5 separate regions of the Homo sapiens genome follow, and all the other regions are linked to region 3. The links are contacts of gene promoters, found by promoter capture Hi-C in human tissues and cell types (Jung and others, 2019). All regions are on one chromosome and are shown on one strand. The core of a region is centred on a gene start or on the middle of the fragment in contact, and the rest is flanking DNA. Distances in the headings are between cores, read along the strand shown.

The links. The method cuts DNA at HindIII sites, captures the fragments that hold promoters and counts their contacts. A contact is called where the count stands out against the background at its distance.
Region 1: a fragment that was not itself captured here is called in contact with the fragment with the promoter of CCT8L2 in region 3 in 6 of the 25 tissues and cell types used here (IMR-90 fibroblasts, dorsolateral prefrontal cortex, heart right ventricle and 3 more).
Region 2: a contact is called between the fragment with the promoter of XKR3 here and the fragment with the promoter of CCT8L2 in region 3, in 3 of the 25 tissues and cell types used here (adrenal gland, aorta and bladder).
Region 4: a contact is called between a fragment that was not itself captured here and the fragment with the promoter of CCT8L2 in region 3, in 2 of the 25 tissues and cell types used here (dorsolateral prefrontal cortex and lymphoblastoid cells).
Region 5: a fragment that was not itself captured here is called in contact with the fragment with the promoter of CCT8L2 in region 3 in 5 of the 25 tissues and cell types used here (dorsolateral prefrontal cortex, heart left ventricle, lymphoblastoid cells and 2 more).

What each region holds. Positions count from the first base shown.
Region 1 is chr22:16,729,991-16,732,690 of GRCh38, reverse strand. No RefSeq gene overlaps it. Among named protein-coding and RNA genes, the nearest start is that of LINC01665, 17 kb to the left of the region's middle. The HindIII fragment of the contact is 6,420 bases long and covers 1-2,700 here.
Region 2 is chr22:16,823,914-16,826,700 of GRCh38, reverse strand. It overlaps XKR3 (XK related 3), which reads left to right and starts at 1,290. Exons shown (of 4, transcript NM_001386955.1): 1 at 1,290-1,410. The HindIII fragment of the contact is 14,808 bases long and covers 1-2,787 here.
Region 3 is chr22:16,591,518-16,594,217 of GRCh38, reverse strand. CCT8L2 (chaperonin containing TCP1 subunit 8 like 2) reads left to right here and starts at 1,408. Exons shown (of 1, transcript NM_014406.5): 1 at 1,408-2,700. The coding sequence starts at 1,668. The HindIII fragment of the contact is 16,456 bases long and covers 1-2,700 here.
Region 4 is chr22:16,807,630-16,810,374 of GRCh38, reverse strand. XKR3 (XK related 3) reads left to right here. Exons shown (of 4, transcript NM_001386955.1): 2 at 2,292-2,636. The coding sequence starts at 2,302. Among named protein-coding and RNA genes, the nearest start is that of XKR3, 16 kb to the left of the region's middle. The HindIII fragment of the contact is 8,401 bases long and covers 1-2,745 here.
Region 5 is chr22:16,790,106-16,792,943 of GRCh38, reverse strand. The region is part of intron 3 of XKR3 (XK related 3); the gene reads left to right. Among named protein-coding and RNA genes, the nearest start is that of XKR3, 34 kb to the left of the region's middle. The HindIII fragment of the contact is 6,994 bases long and covers 1-2,838 here.

The DNA.
Region 1 (2,700 bases), core at 144-2,643, 140 kb before region 3:
ACATTAATTAAGTAGCTATGGTTATTTTTAAAAAGTATTTCTGGTTTTAGTGTTTTCTTTGAAAAGTATCTACAGTCTAATTGGGGACCCAGATACTAAGCAATCATTTGAACTTAGTTGAGAACAAAGCTTAGAATCCAGGTACATATTGCTGTAAGAGTGTATTTAATAGGACCATTTTACTCAGTAAATGAAGTGAGTGGATGTTTACTAAGAAGTTGCTATGCTGAATTAAAATACTACTTCATCTGGCAGGGTTGAGATTAACTTTACTAATTAAAGGGTTTGAAATTCTTGGGGCACTACCATTTGAGGCTAAACAAAGTTGAAAACCTGTTTTTCTGCTCGTCAAAGTCCTTCCTCCCTGATTCTCATCTCCTTTCTGGGGATCAGTCTTTTCTTAAAATGATTTAAAGAAGAAAATATGATCTGTCTTTAAGGTAAATCTTACTCTACACACTACAACCATATCCCAACTGGCAAGGCCACAAACCTGTGAAATCATACTCATTTAATGAGACCATGTCTAGTACATCAAACATCCAGGCCTGGTGGAACTTTGCCATGCTGGGGTTCATTTTCTTACAATCTCTCTACCTGAGAAGGACGATCAATGCTATATGTCTTGTCTCCAGTGCTCTTTCTCCTCATTCCTTATTTCTAACTAATGACCGTACTTTACAAGTGCTTGAGAACCACCCATAGTTCATCATATCTACTACCACATGAGAACACAAACACTTTCCCCAAAGAAGTTGCAGTATCTATAGAACCATAACTCTTTTAAAACAATTGAACAGCAATTTGAATTTCCTTCACAGCTGGATTTTTGGATTAAAGTATCCGCAATCAGGATATTCTAGTTTCTCTCAAGATAGTGGGTCATATTTGCTTCACATATATGTAAAGAAACGATTGATTTTTTTGCACTTTTCATAAAACCAAGGAATGCTATTTCTTACATTTGAATTTGTGTCCACCTCTTGCTAAACTGAAATAATATATGGCTGTTAAATAGTTGTTTCTGCTCCAGGTACCACTCGACATGGTTCAAAAATTTCAAGGTTGTTAAAGCCAGGACACACTTTGTTATTCACAAAATAATAAATTCTGAATTCTAACAGTGAGGAGGCAAAACTGATGAGCATATTAAAAATTGGGTTCTATGTGGCAATACATTAAGTTACAAAGTACAACTCTGAACTGTAGACTTTTAAGTTACTGTTTGCGTATACAGTCTTTGCGTATTTACACTGTAGATAGAAAGATGAATAAGACATTCTTAAGAGTTGATGGGTGGAGAGTTATATAAATAAAGAATTATTTCGAAAGATGTTTATAGAGTGAGAATGACATTTAATAGGAGCATTTTACTCATCAAGTATAGAGGTTATGCTGAGTGTACCCAGGTGAGAGCTGATCATTTAACCTGGAACCAAAGTTTAAAGGTCATAATAAATTAATTGAGGAAATGTTTTTAAGTGAAATATACATTTTTAAATATGACCGAGTCCTTTTATAATTATCAACAGTTTTGGTTTTCATTAAACATTAAGTGCCTCTTTCTTAATTCTTCACCGGCTTTCCCTGCCACCTGCTACGCATTACGGTTCCCCCAACTACCAACCTTTAGTGTCCTATAAAATGAAACTCTTCTTAATTTTAGCATGAATAAAACATAATAAGCAGGATGAATCAGCCACCAGAAGCTCACATAATATATTCCAGGAACAAATTAAAGTGACATTTGTTTAATAAACTCCTTTTATATCCATGAACTGGCTTGTCTTCATTGAAAGTAAATATTCAAAGCCACTGAGATTGAACTAAAAAGTCAGAGTAACACTTTTGGACTCTCCCAATTTATTCTTGATTAATGACTAAGGTATTAGGTTTCATTTCTTCTCAATTCCAGTAAAAATTAACTTTTTAGTTTCTGCTAATGCCTTTTCATTAAATGTAAAATACTGATTACTAATGATTTTCTTCTGTGTTGTGTAATTTAAAAAAATAAAATTTAATTTTCCCAGTAATAAGCACAGTTTAAAAATTTTTTTCCACATAAGTTTATCATTCAAAATTTCAGAACTTGCTATAATTGCCACAAAAAAAGTCTTGATGTCACCTCCTCTGAAAACTATTTTAGGCAGAATAGATGGGCCAACCTGAGTCACAAACGATAACTGTGTCTTGTAACTCTACGTACTATGATCCAGAGTTTCTGCTGTGCCACAATGGTGTCTAGAAGAGAAATTTTCCTTCCTGTGGTTCCGTTTAATCAAGAGGGCTCCGTGTTGCAGAATAGCTCCCAGTGTTCATTTAGTCAAATTCTTTGAATTCACTTGATGTTCATTTCCCCAGTACACACCCTGCCAGTAGGATGGTTGGACTAGAAGGGATTGTGGTGTCAGTTGTTTTGCATATATCAAACTAACATTTCTTCTCCATCCAGCTTTTGTGGCAGATAATTCATTAACAAATTTATTCTTTTCCAGTTCTTACAATCGGTTCCCTAAGACACCTTATTTTCCTTTGCTCCTATTTGGCCTTGGTCAAGCATCATAGCCTATGTCATCAGCGAAGTTACAGTAACTGTAACCCATAAAGACACAACAGGTCGTGAGCCCGAGTGGCCATCTCCTCCCTATGTAAATTTGTGGGCATAAACAGAAATGTGCTCTTACTGAATACATCATAATC
Region 2 (2,787 bases), core at 41-2,540, 230 kb before region 3:
ATGGTTGTCAGGGGCTGGGGAATAGAAAGAACTGTTAAGTAGATAATGGGGTTTCCTGTTTGATGATAGAAATGTTTTAATAATATAATTTTGAATAATGTAATTTTGTATTATGTGAAACATACCTTAAAAAATTAAAATAAAATCAAATATGAATAAAACTGATTAGATTTCAGAATAAAAAGTTATTCATGTATGTATCTATTCAAAACATTTTTTATTCATATCATAGAATAAATAATACTTTCATTTGGTATGTCTGTAAATATCTGACATGTTAATTATGTAAGATTTTAAAAGCAAGTGACCTACTTATAAGGAGATCCCAAAGAGTGGGAGATTTAAAAATGTAATAATAACAAGAAAGTGTTTTAAGTAAAGTAAATTTGTATGTATGTCTAAGCAGAAAATTTTATTATTTGGTTCCAAGAGCCAAATATCTATTTAAAAAATATTTCTTAAGGAATAATCTCTGTGTCCTGCAACGTAAAGTTATCATTATAAAACAGGAGTCAAATTTGTGAATTAATCTTAGAATTGAATAAAATATTTCTTCTCTTTGAAAAATAATCATGCCCCATTTACAGTAAGAATTTTTATATGTTCATGCTTGAGAGGTGGTATATTAAAATTCTAATGCCTTGGCTTTAAGTGTTGAATATGTGTGGAATAAAAAAATAATGATTTTGATATTTCTTATACTGTAGGAGGCAGTTCTCTCATACTGGAAAGAGGTGTCATTGTTAGAAGCTTGTCTTGGTTTAACATAGTTTAAGTTTTGGGGGTGTATTTTGTTTAGTTCAAAATTTTCCATATTAGCAGTAAGTAACAAAAATGTCCAGATCAGAAAACTCTTTGTGAAAATAAAACAGGTGCTCCTACCAGATGTGGTTCATCAATTTTGACAGAATTTTCATTTAAAAAAGGCAAAATTAAAATTTGTTTAATTGTTTGCTTTCTGGGGAATTTTCTTGTTGCTCTGTCTGAAGGAAGTACAGACTTCTTTTGTGATGGGAGGGGATGAATGGCTACTAGACAGCAGCAAAAGATGGGCCATGGGTGCGAAGAGAAGAGGGAGTTAATGGGAGAATCAGAAAAATATCACCTTAAATGTAGGACAATCGAAGTCAAATTGTGGCTGAGCGTTTTGGGGAACTAAGATGTGTGACTCTGTAGGGAGGAAGAATGCCTTGGTGTTTTCAAGGGAAGATGACTCAGCTAGTGCAGTCACCTGACTCCAAACTGCAAGCCTACTTTAGTCATAAAAAGGCAAGAAAATAAGCAATTTTACCTGCAAAGCAAAGGACGTAGTGTTGAAAACGAGACCAGAAATGGTGCTGTTAAAGAGGTGAACAAAAGCATTTACTTTTTGAACGAGTTTCAAAACTGTGAGGGTGGCAAATAGGCAAGGTAAGTAGGAGCAGCCCTCGACCATCTCAGATCAGCTTCTTCAGCCTACCTTGACCTCTGCCTGTCTCAGCTGGGGATCTTAACATAAATCTCTGGATATCAGGGGTGGCTTTTCCCGAGTCTTGAGCCTAGAAACTCCCTCTCTTGATTCTGATTTTCAGAGAAGAGAAGCAGCTGCTTAGCATTTGGGTGGGACAGTGGTTGTTACTAATATATTACAAATTTCAGCATGTTTTTAAACATCAGAAGGAGAAAGTGCTTCGTATTTAAGTGAAATCTCAAAGGGGCAGAAATCTACCATATTTTTTGTTATTCAGATGCAGTGATGCACTGGCTATGTGAGTACAAGAAACAAGTTCACTTAATCACAAACACATGCCTAAATTCCATTGTTCAGTGACTTCACTTTCACTTTCTACCTTGAATTTTAGACTCTGGAAGACCCATTTCTAAACTCTGTGGCCCTTTTCATATGTGCATATTTTCATAAGTGTTTTCCAGAAATAAATTATAGAGGTCCTTCTGTGAGTCCAAAGGAGAAGGAAGTGGTTGGGGCAGCCAGAAAGGTGCAATCTGCATTAATATCATATTCGATGTATGGATTGCTGGGGAGAGAGTGGGATATATTTCTTATAATGTTGGATGTATTTTTCCCCTATCCTGAGGCCCAGAAACTCTGATGTCTCTGCAGTTGTCTTTCCATGCTTTCCTTTATACCCCTCGCCTACTTCTGTAATTTCTCTCTCTACTCTCCCTCCTCCTTCCCACCCTTTTTCTTTCCATTTGTGCTCTCTCCCTCCATTCCTTCTTTTTCCCTTTTCTTTCTTTTTGTGGGTATCTGGTAGCTGCAACTTATTTTCTTTCTGCTTTTCTTACTCACTTACTCTATTTACTAGGTATTTAACAATTGTCTTTAAAAGTAACATCCTTTCTTTCTTAAAATTTTATCCCTAATGGACATTATTTGGGGAAAAACATTTTTATGGTGCCTCTAGATAAGTAATTATATCATCTGCACATGATTCCCGTATTTTCTTACATGCCCGTTCCTCGTAGGTGGAAATGGGTACTTCATTGTACTCTTCTCTCTTTATTTACAAGAGTGTTTTTTCTGTCTCATCCCTTTAAATAACACATTGTCTCTCTTTTTGTGACATTGAATTAATTAGGTCAGATGCGATTTTTCTCATCTATTCATTTGAAGACTGTTTCATATTGCTTCTAGGGCCTATTTGCAAGCAACAAATTATTTTGTTGTTGTTGTTGTTTTGTTTTGTTTTTTAATTTTTGGACCATTTGTCTCATCACTCCAACAAGCAAGAATTAGTTCTCATCATTAAGATCCCTTCAAGATTTCATTCACTTGTTTCAGCAGCC
Region 3 (2,700 bases), core at 159-2,658:
CTTAAGCAATCCTCCCGCCTCAGCCTCCCAACGTGCAGGGATTACATGCATGAGCCACCACGCCCAGACTAAATATGTGTTAAACTAAAGCAGAAGCATCATTACCCGAGTAGGCTCTATAGGAGGAAAGAGGAGACAAGTGAGGAAAGGAGAGAGAATGAAAAAAAGAGACTTAAATTGTAAGCATTGAAGGTTAGGATGGGAAGGCGATTCGCATTTAAATCTCAGGACCCCATTTAGGCTTCTACCTCCCTGACCGCTGGGAGGCTGGTTGCTTTTCACCCCTCTGGGTTCACTTCTATTTGTCTGTGAGCTGTCAGCATCCTTCCCCACTTGTCTTGCCCTGCCTCTGCCAGGGAGGCAGAGTTGGGAGTCGTGGCACAGGCATGCACGCTGTGCAGCCTCCCACACCTGCACCCTGAAAGACCAACAGACACCCTAAGAAACCTGATACACAAGCACAAACTGATAAGATACCCAAAAAGTCAAAGGCAGACAGCAAAACATGGCTAATATTACACAGTACTGCAAGAGAAAGTAACACCAAAACAAAACAAAACACAGACATCATCTCTCAGTTCCTTCTCAAATAAAAAAAAAAGGCCAGGTGCAGTGGCTCACACCTGTAATCCCAGCACTTTTGGAGGCCGAGGTGGGCGGATCACTTGAGGCCAGGAGTTTGAGACTAACCTGGCCAACCATGGCCAACATGGTGAAATCCCCCTATCTCTACTAAAAATATAAAAAATTAGCCGGGCGTGGTGGCTGGCACCTGTAATCCCAGCTACTGAGAGGCTGAGGCAGGAGAACTGCTTGAACCTGGGAGGTGGAGGTTGCAGTGAGCTAAGATTGTACCACTGCACTCCAGCCTGGGCAACAGAGTGTGACTCTGTCTCAAAAAAAAAAAAAAAAAAAGGGTGGGTGAGGTGGTGGCTCACACCTGTAGTCCTAGCACTTTGGGAGGCCAAGGTGGAAGGCTCTCTTGAGGCTAGGAATTCGAGACCTGCCTGGACAACAGACAGAAACACTGTCTCTACAAAAAATAAAAAAACTAGCTAGGTGTGGTGGTGTGTGCCTGTAGTCCCAGGTACTTGGGAACCTGAGCAGGAGGACTGCTTGAGACCAGGGAGCTGGGCCTGCAGTGAACCATGGTTATGCCCCTGCACTCCAGATAGGGTGAAATGGGTAGTTTTTCACTTGATCTCCTCCTCATTGTCTCTTACGTTTAAACAAGTCTCAAACCTGGTGCAGAGGTGCATGTACCTCCATTGCTGGACAAGGCCTGACTTTTGCCTGCTGGTAGGGCCTCCTCAGTTCTAACCAGCCTTCTGTGACCTCATTCTCTATCCTGGTTCCATTTTCCACTTTGTGACTTCATCAGTTAAAGATCCCATTTCAGCCACCAAGGTTGAGAGGCCCCAAGACCCAGTTCCTTTACAGAATCAACCCTGGGGTGGCTTTAGGACTGGGCTCTTTGGAGCTCATCCTTGGACCCACAGTGGAGTGCTGGTCCGTGCTGATGTCTTCAGATACCAATCAATGGGCATTTGGCTCCTTGCTTCCACTGACCTCTTGAGTACTTTCAACGATCGGTGTCAGGAGTGCCCCAGCTGCTGTTTCTAGAGCATCTCTGCAACCCACGGTGGCCTCTCCTCTCTCTGCGGGCCATGGACAGCACAGTCCCTTCAGCCCTGGAGCTGCCCCAGCGGCTGGCACTGAACCCAAGGGAGAGCCCGAGGAGTCCAGAAGAGGAGGAGCCCCACCTGCTGAGCAGCTTGGCTGCAGTCCAGACCCTGGCCAGTGTCATCCGGCCTTGCTATGGCCCCCACGGCCGGCAGAAGTTCCTGGTGACCATGAAAGGAGAAACAGTGTGCACGGGGTGTGCCACTGCCATCCTCAGGGCCCTGGAGCTGGAGCACCCAGCAGCATGGCTCCTCCGGGAAGCAGGACAAACCCAGGCAGAGAATAGTGGGGACGGCACAGCCTTCGTGGTTCTGCTGACGGAAGCCTTGCTGGAACAGGCAGAGCAGCTGCTGAAGGCTGGCCTGCCTCGCCCGCAGCTCCGGGAGGCCTACGCCACGGCCACTGCAGAGGTCCTGGCCACACTGCCCTCCCTGGCCATCCAATCTCTGGGGCCTTTGGAAGATCCATCCTGGGCCCTCCATTCTGTGATGAATACCCACACCCTGTCCCCCATGGACCACTTGACCAAGCTGGTGGCCCACGCCTGCTGGGCTATCAAGGAACTAGACGGCAGCTTCAAGCCTGAGCGTGTTGGGGTGTGCGCGCTGCCCGGGGGGACACTGGAGGATTCCTGCCTCCTCCCGGGGTTAGCAATATCTGGGAAGCTCTGTGGGCAAATGGCCACAGTGTTAAGTGGTGCCAGGGTGGCTCTCTTTGCTTGCCCCTTTGGTCCTGCCCATCCAAATGCACCAGCAACGGCCCGTCTTTCTAGTCCTGCTGATCTAGCTCAATTTAGTAAAGGAAGCGATCAATTACTAGAAAAGCAAGTAGGCCAGCTAGCAGCTGCAGGAATTAATGTGGCAGTGGTGTTGGGGGAGGTCGACGAGGAGACCCTCACACTGGCGGACAAGTATGGCATCGTGGTGATTCAAGCTAGGTCTTGGATGGAGATCATTTACCTGAGTGAGGTGTTGGACACACCTCTGCTGCCTCGTCTGCTCCCTCCCCAGAGGCCAG
Region 4 (2,745 bases), core at 17-2,516, 220 kb before region 3:
AAGCATTAAGGATGACCTTATGTGCCTTAGCAGCAGGACGTAATTATTATCAGGTGAAATGGGAAACATATGGGGAAAGTTGTTTGGAAAGTGGATCAGAATTCAGTCTGTAGCCTTGAGTTCAAATTGCCTATTAAACTCGAATATGTACAACAGACTCCTATAAGTTTGGGGCATTGGTAAGAGACTGGCTGGAGATATAAATATGGGACTCAGTACCATTCAGAAATCCATTGTACAGGAAAAGATAACCAGGAGATTGAGAGTAAATGCATCAGGAATAATTCAAGTAAGAGGGAGACTAAAAAATAACTTTTATAATTGGCCAGGTGTGGTGGCTTGCACCTCCAATGCCAGCAGTTTGGGAGCCTGAGGCGGGCAGAAGGCTTGAGCCCAGGAGCTCGAGACCAGCCTGGGCAATATGAAGAGACCCTGTCTCTACAAAAATACCAAAGTTAGCTAGGCCTGGTGGCCTGCAGTCACAATCACCCGGAAGGTGGAAGTGGAAAGATCGCTTGAGCTTGGGAGGTTGAGGCTGCAGTGAGTCCTTGATCGCACCACTACACTCCAGCCTGGACAACAGAACCAGACCGTGTCTCAATAAACAATGATAGGAATTTAAAAAAAAACTATTATATTTGGCAAAAAGAAAGTTAAATATAGTACTTTTGGTGGACCGTTGGGGATGAAAGCCTGACTGGTTAAGGTAAGTGGAATGTTCAAATGAGAGCATATTATCAATGGCAAAAATATTCAACTGAAGTTTAAGGTAACATATTACATTTAGCAATTAGGGTGTCACTGATGACTTTTGAGAAACCACTGTGACTTCACTGTTGTGGGATAAAACCTGAGAAATAATAAGAAGTGATGGAAAGGAAATAACTAATAGAAATTCTCTGTGGCAATTAAAAGCAGAGAAAAAGTTCAGCACCATGAGAGACAGTTTTTGTTTTGAATTGTAAAATATGGTTTTTTTAATACACGTGTGATAAGGAAATCAGAGCACCGAAGAGGAGAATAAAATAAATTACACAAAAGAGAAAAAGATCAATCATATTGATGGATTGGGTCCAGGAGGACATATTTTAAAATGGGATGAAGGTTTTGTCTTTGAATAAATAAGTGCATATAGATAAAGGTGTGATTTAGATCAGAAAAACAAAAGAAGTTGAGGAATTTAATATTCTGCAGCATAAAATTTAAAGAATTTGAGGAATATTTATGATAAATTATGACAAAGCAATGCAAAGACAGTTCAAGAAATGAACAACTTGTCAAATAAAATAGATAACTTCCTGCTTCTTCCCTCCCACTTTTTTTAACTACTACTTTTACTTTTCCCATTAATATGTTTTTAAAAACCACCAACGTCTTCTGGGGAAATATTATCTTTCTTTCTGGAAATTTGCATTAGATGCTTACTCATTTTTTGTGCTTTCAATATATTAACAGCATTTTTAGTCAGAAAAATATTTCTCTAAAACAATTTCATTTTAATATTTACTTGATTTAAAAGTACTGTTGCCTTTTATTTTCCTTCTTATTCATTTTGTTTTATATTGCTTCCCACACATAGTGACTAATTGATGTTCACAGTATGTCAGTAATTTTTCTGGCGGTTTGTCTACAGAGAACCTAAAATGAGCTGTTTTTCCCCCCAACAAAAGAGAGTTTAAACCTACTATTGCCATGCAGTCTGGATTTTACATCTATTTAAATTGAAACTTTACTAGATTAATAACTTCATAGAGTTAAGTTCAGTCAAGAAACAGTATTTTAAATGCAAATAACCAACATCTAGCAATAAGTGGAACTTAAAGGCCTCACTATTCTGTATTCCTTTACTAATCAGGAATATCTGGGGATAGTTTTCTTAGTGTCATCATGGTTAGACTTGGCTTAGATTGTGCCGTTTTATTTTAGTGGATGTCAGCTGCAGACATTGGCTGAAAAGCACAAAAAGAAAACTTATGAGTAATGAACATTTCTTTCATACTACTTGGAGATAGGACTATCATCTCAGTGCTAAGAGGTAGTTGATGCCTTATAGAAGTTTGATCGTCTACTTCTTTAAAACAATGTTTTCTGAAGAAATAGTATGTCAAATTAGACATCATAGTTCAATATTCCCTAAACCAGACATGGATTTTTCTATTCTGATTAGTGATCCATATCTACCTGTTAACATTTTCTATGAATAGTGAATTATAGAGAATCTTGTTTACTTCTGTTTAAATTTAATACTGAACTCTACTGGATTCACTGACAAGACGACTTTGAATTAGCAGCACCCTGAGAATGGAGACAGTGTTTGAAGAGATGGATGAAGAAAGCACAGGAGGAGTTTCATCTTCGAAAGAAGAAATAGTCCTTGGCCAGAGACTCCATCTAAGCTTTCCTTTTAGCATTATCTTCTCAACTGTTCTCTACTGTGGTGAGGTTGCCTTTGGTTTATACATGTTTGAAATTTATCGAAAAGCTAATGACACATTCTGGATGTCATTTACCATCAGCTTTATTATTGTGGGGGCAATTTTGGATCAAATTATCCTGATGTTTTTCAACAAAGACTTGAGGAGAAATAAGGCTGCATTACTTTTTTGGCACATTCTTCTTTTAGGACCTATTGTGAGGTAAGTGACACAAATATTTCTCATTCACTGCCTCCAACAAGTAAATTGAATATAAATAGATGGCTAAAAAGATTAAGGATGCCATAATTATCGTTTACGGAATTGAAAT
Region 5 (2,838 bases), core at 264-2,763, 200 kb before region 3:
TAGGAAGATAACTAGTTGAACCAGACGCATGTTGATTATCTGCAAAGGTAAAATAAAATCAAAACATTTTTATTTGGCGTTTAAGAGGGAAGTGCTGGTTGCAACATGTAAAAGGAAGGTAATCATTTTTTATTTTCGGAGTTGATAAATATAGACTTGAACAAAACATCACTAAAAGACATGAAATATACAGTATTTTATTACAAAGATGTCATTTGACATCAGATGTCATTTGAAATTCTTTCGTAACAAGGGAAGTTTTTAGCATATATGTGAACAACAAACTAAGACTAAGAAGTTGTTTGCCAAATCAATAGATATTTGACAAGTGGGCATTCAAACCAAATGAGAAGCAGTTAGGTACACGTTTACATGTGTCCAAAATTATTGAATTATATGAGACCTTCAGCAGTAAAACAAATGATGGCTGAATAAACCTATAACTATACAACCACAACCATATCCCATGGGATAGGATCTATAGTTGGAAATTTTTTTACAAATAAGTTCTACTAGCTTCATGGCATTAGATGCAGTTTTCATTGTACGCACAGATCTGTAGACTGCGTGTATTTGTGTGTTCACTTTTCCTATTACCACTAATTTTTTTAACAAGGTTCATAATTATTTGCTTTCTATTAACTGACAAAATGTAGACGGACACCTATTTATAAACATATGAAAATTGTGTCAGTGTAGGCCGGGCATGGTGGCTCACACCTGTAATCCTAGCATTTTAGGAGGCCAAGGTGGGTGGATCACATGAGGTTAGGGTTTCAAGACTAGCTTGGCCAACATGGTGAAGTCCTGTCTGTCTCTACTAAAAATACAATAATTAGCTGGACATGGTAGCGGGTACCTGTAATCTCAACTATTCGGTAGGCTGAGGCAAGAGAATGGCTTGAACCCAGCAGACGGAGGATGCAATGAGCCGAGATAGTGCCATTGCACTCCAGCCTGGGGAACAAGAGCAAACCTCCATCCCCTCCAACAACAACAACAAAAGCAAAAAACAAACAAAAAAAAAAAACAAAAAGAAAATGGTACCAGTGGTCAGTGTAATACAATTTTATGGTGTGGCTGTTTTTCCCCTTTAGTCTCAGAGTCAGTCTCTCTCTCTCTCTCTCTCTTTCTCTCTCTCTCTCTCTCTCTCTCTCTCTCTCTCCCTCTCTCTCCCTCTCTCCCTCTCTCTCCCTCTCTCTCCCTCTTTCTCCCTCTCTCCCTCTCTCTCTCCCCCCTGCCTCCTTTCTTTCTCTATTTTTTTTTTACATCGACAGGTTACATTGTATGTTTTTATTGTGTACAAGATGATGTTTGAAGTATATATATAACATGGAATAGTTAAATCCAGAGAATTAACAAATGCATTTTCTCACGTAGTTATCTGTTTTTTTTTTTATTTTGGTAAGAGCAATTAATATCCATTCTGTGTACATATTTCAACAATATACCTTCACTAACTGTAGTGACCCTGCTATACAATAGATCTCTTTAAATTTATTACTCCTATCTGACTGTAATTATAAATCTTTTGATAAAATTCTCCTCATTCTTTCTTTTCCTATAACCACTCTAGTCTCTGGTAACCATTGTTTCACTCTCTATATCCACAGAGTCTTTTTTTTTTTAAGTTTTCTCATAAAAGTGAGACCATTTTTTTTCACTCAACGTAATGTCTTCCAGGTTCATCCCTGTTGCTGCAGATGAGAATTTCATTCTTTTTTATAGCTGAATACTCTTCCATTGTGTATATGTACCACATTTTCTTTATGTATTCATTCACTGATGGACACTTGAGGTGATTCTATATCTTGGCTACTGTGAATAATGCTGAAATAAACATGAGAGTGTATATATCTCTTCAACATACTGGATTCAATTCCTTTTGATACATTCTCAAAAGTGGAATTTCTGGATAATGCATTAGTACTAATTTCTAATTTTTGAGGAAGCTCCAAACTGTTCATGGAGTAAAATGGGTTTAGTGATTTGCATTATCACCCATAATGTGCAAGAGTTTTCGTTCCTCCATATTCTTTTTTTTTTTTCAACGTTTCTTTTTTCTTTTTATTCTTTAAATAATGGCTGTTCCAACCAGGATGAGGTGAAGTCTCATACAGGTTTTGATTTACATGTCTTCTTTTGAAAAATGCCTTTTGAGAAAGGCCTATTAAGAGACCTATTTTCTTTACGGAGAATTGTTTATTTTTTTCTTTCTAATTTTTAAAATTTAACTTCTATTTTAGTTTTAGGGCTACATATGCAGGTTTGTTATATAAGTAAACTTGTATGATAGGGGTTTGTTGTACAAATTATTTCATCACCCAGGTATTAAGCCTAGTGTCCATTAGTTGTTTTCACTGATGTTCTCCTTCCTCCCACTCTGTAGCCTCTAATGGGCCACAGTGCGTGTTGTTTCCCTCTATTTGTCCATGTGTAATCATAATTTAGTTCCCAGTTATAAGTGAGAACACGTGGTATTTGTTTGTTTTGCTTTTGAATATTTTTAAGTTCCTTGTATATTTTAATTAACCCCTTGTCTGATGTATAATTTGCAAATATTTGCTCTCATTCTATCACTCTGATTTTTTTTTTTTTTTTCTGCGTGGAAGCTTTCTAGTAGGATGAAACCTCATTTGTCTGTTGGTGGTTTTGTTGCTTGTGGTTTTGAGGTCTTATCCAAAAAAAAAAAAAAAATCCTTGCCCAGACCAAGGTCATTAAGTTTGCCCTGTGTTTTATTAGGTTTGACAGTTTAGGGTTTTCATTACATATTTATTTTTAAACGTTTTTAAAAATGTATTTTTACAGATGAGGTCTCACTGTATTGCCTAGGGTTA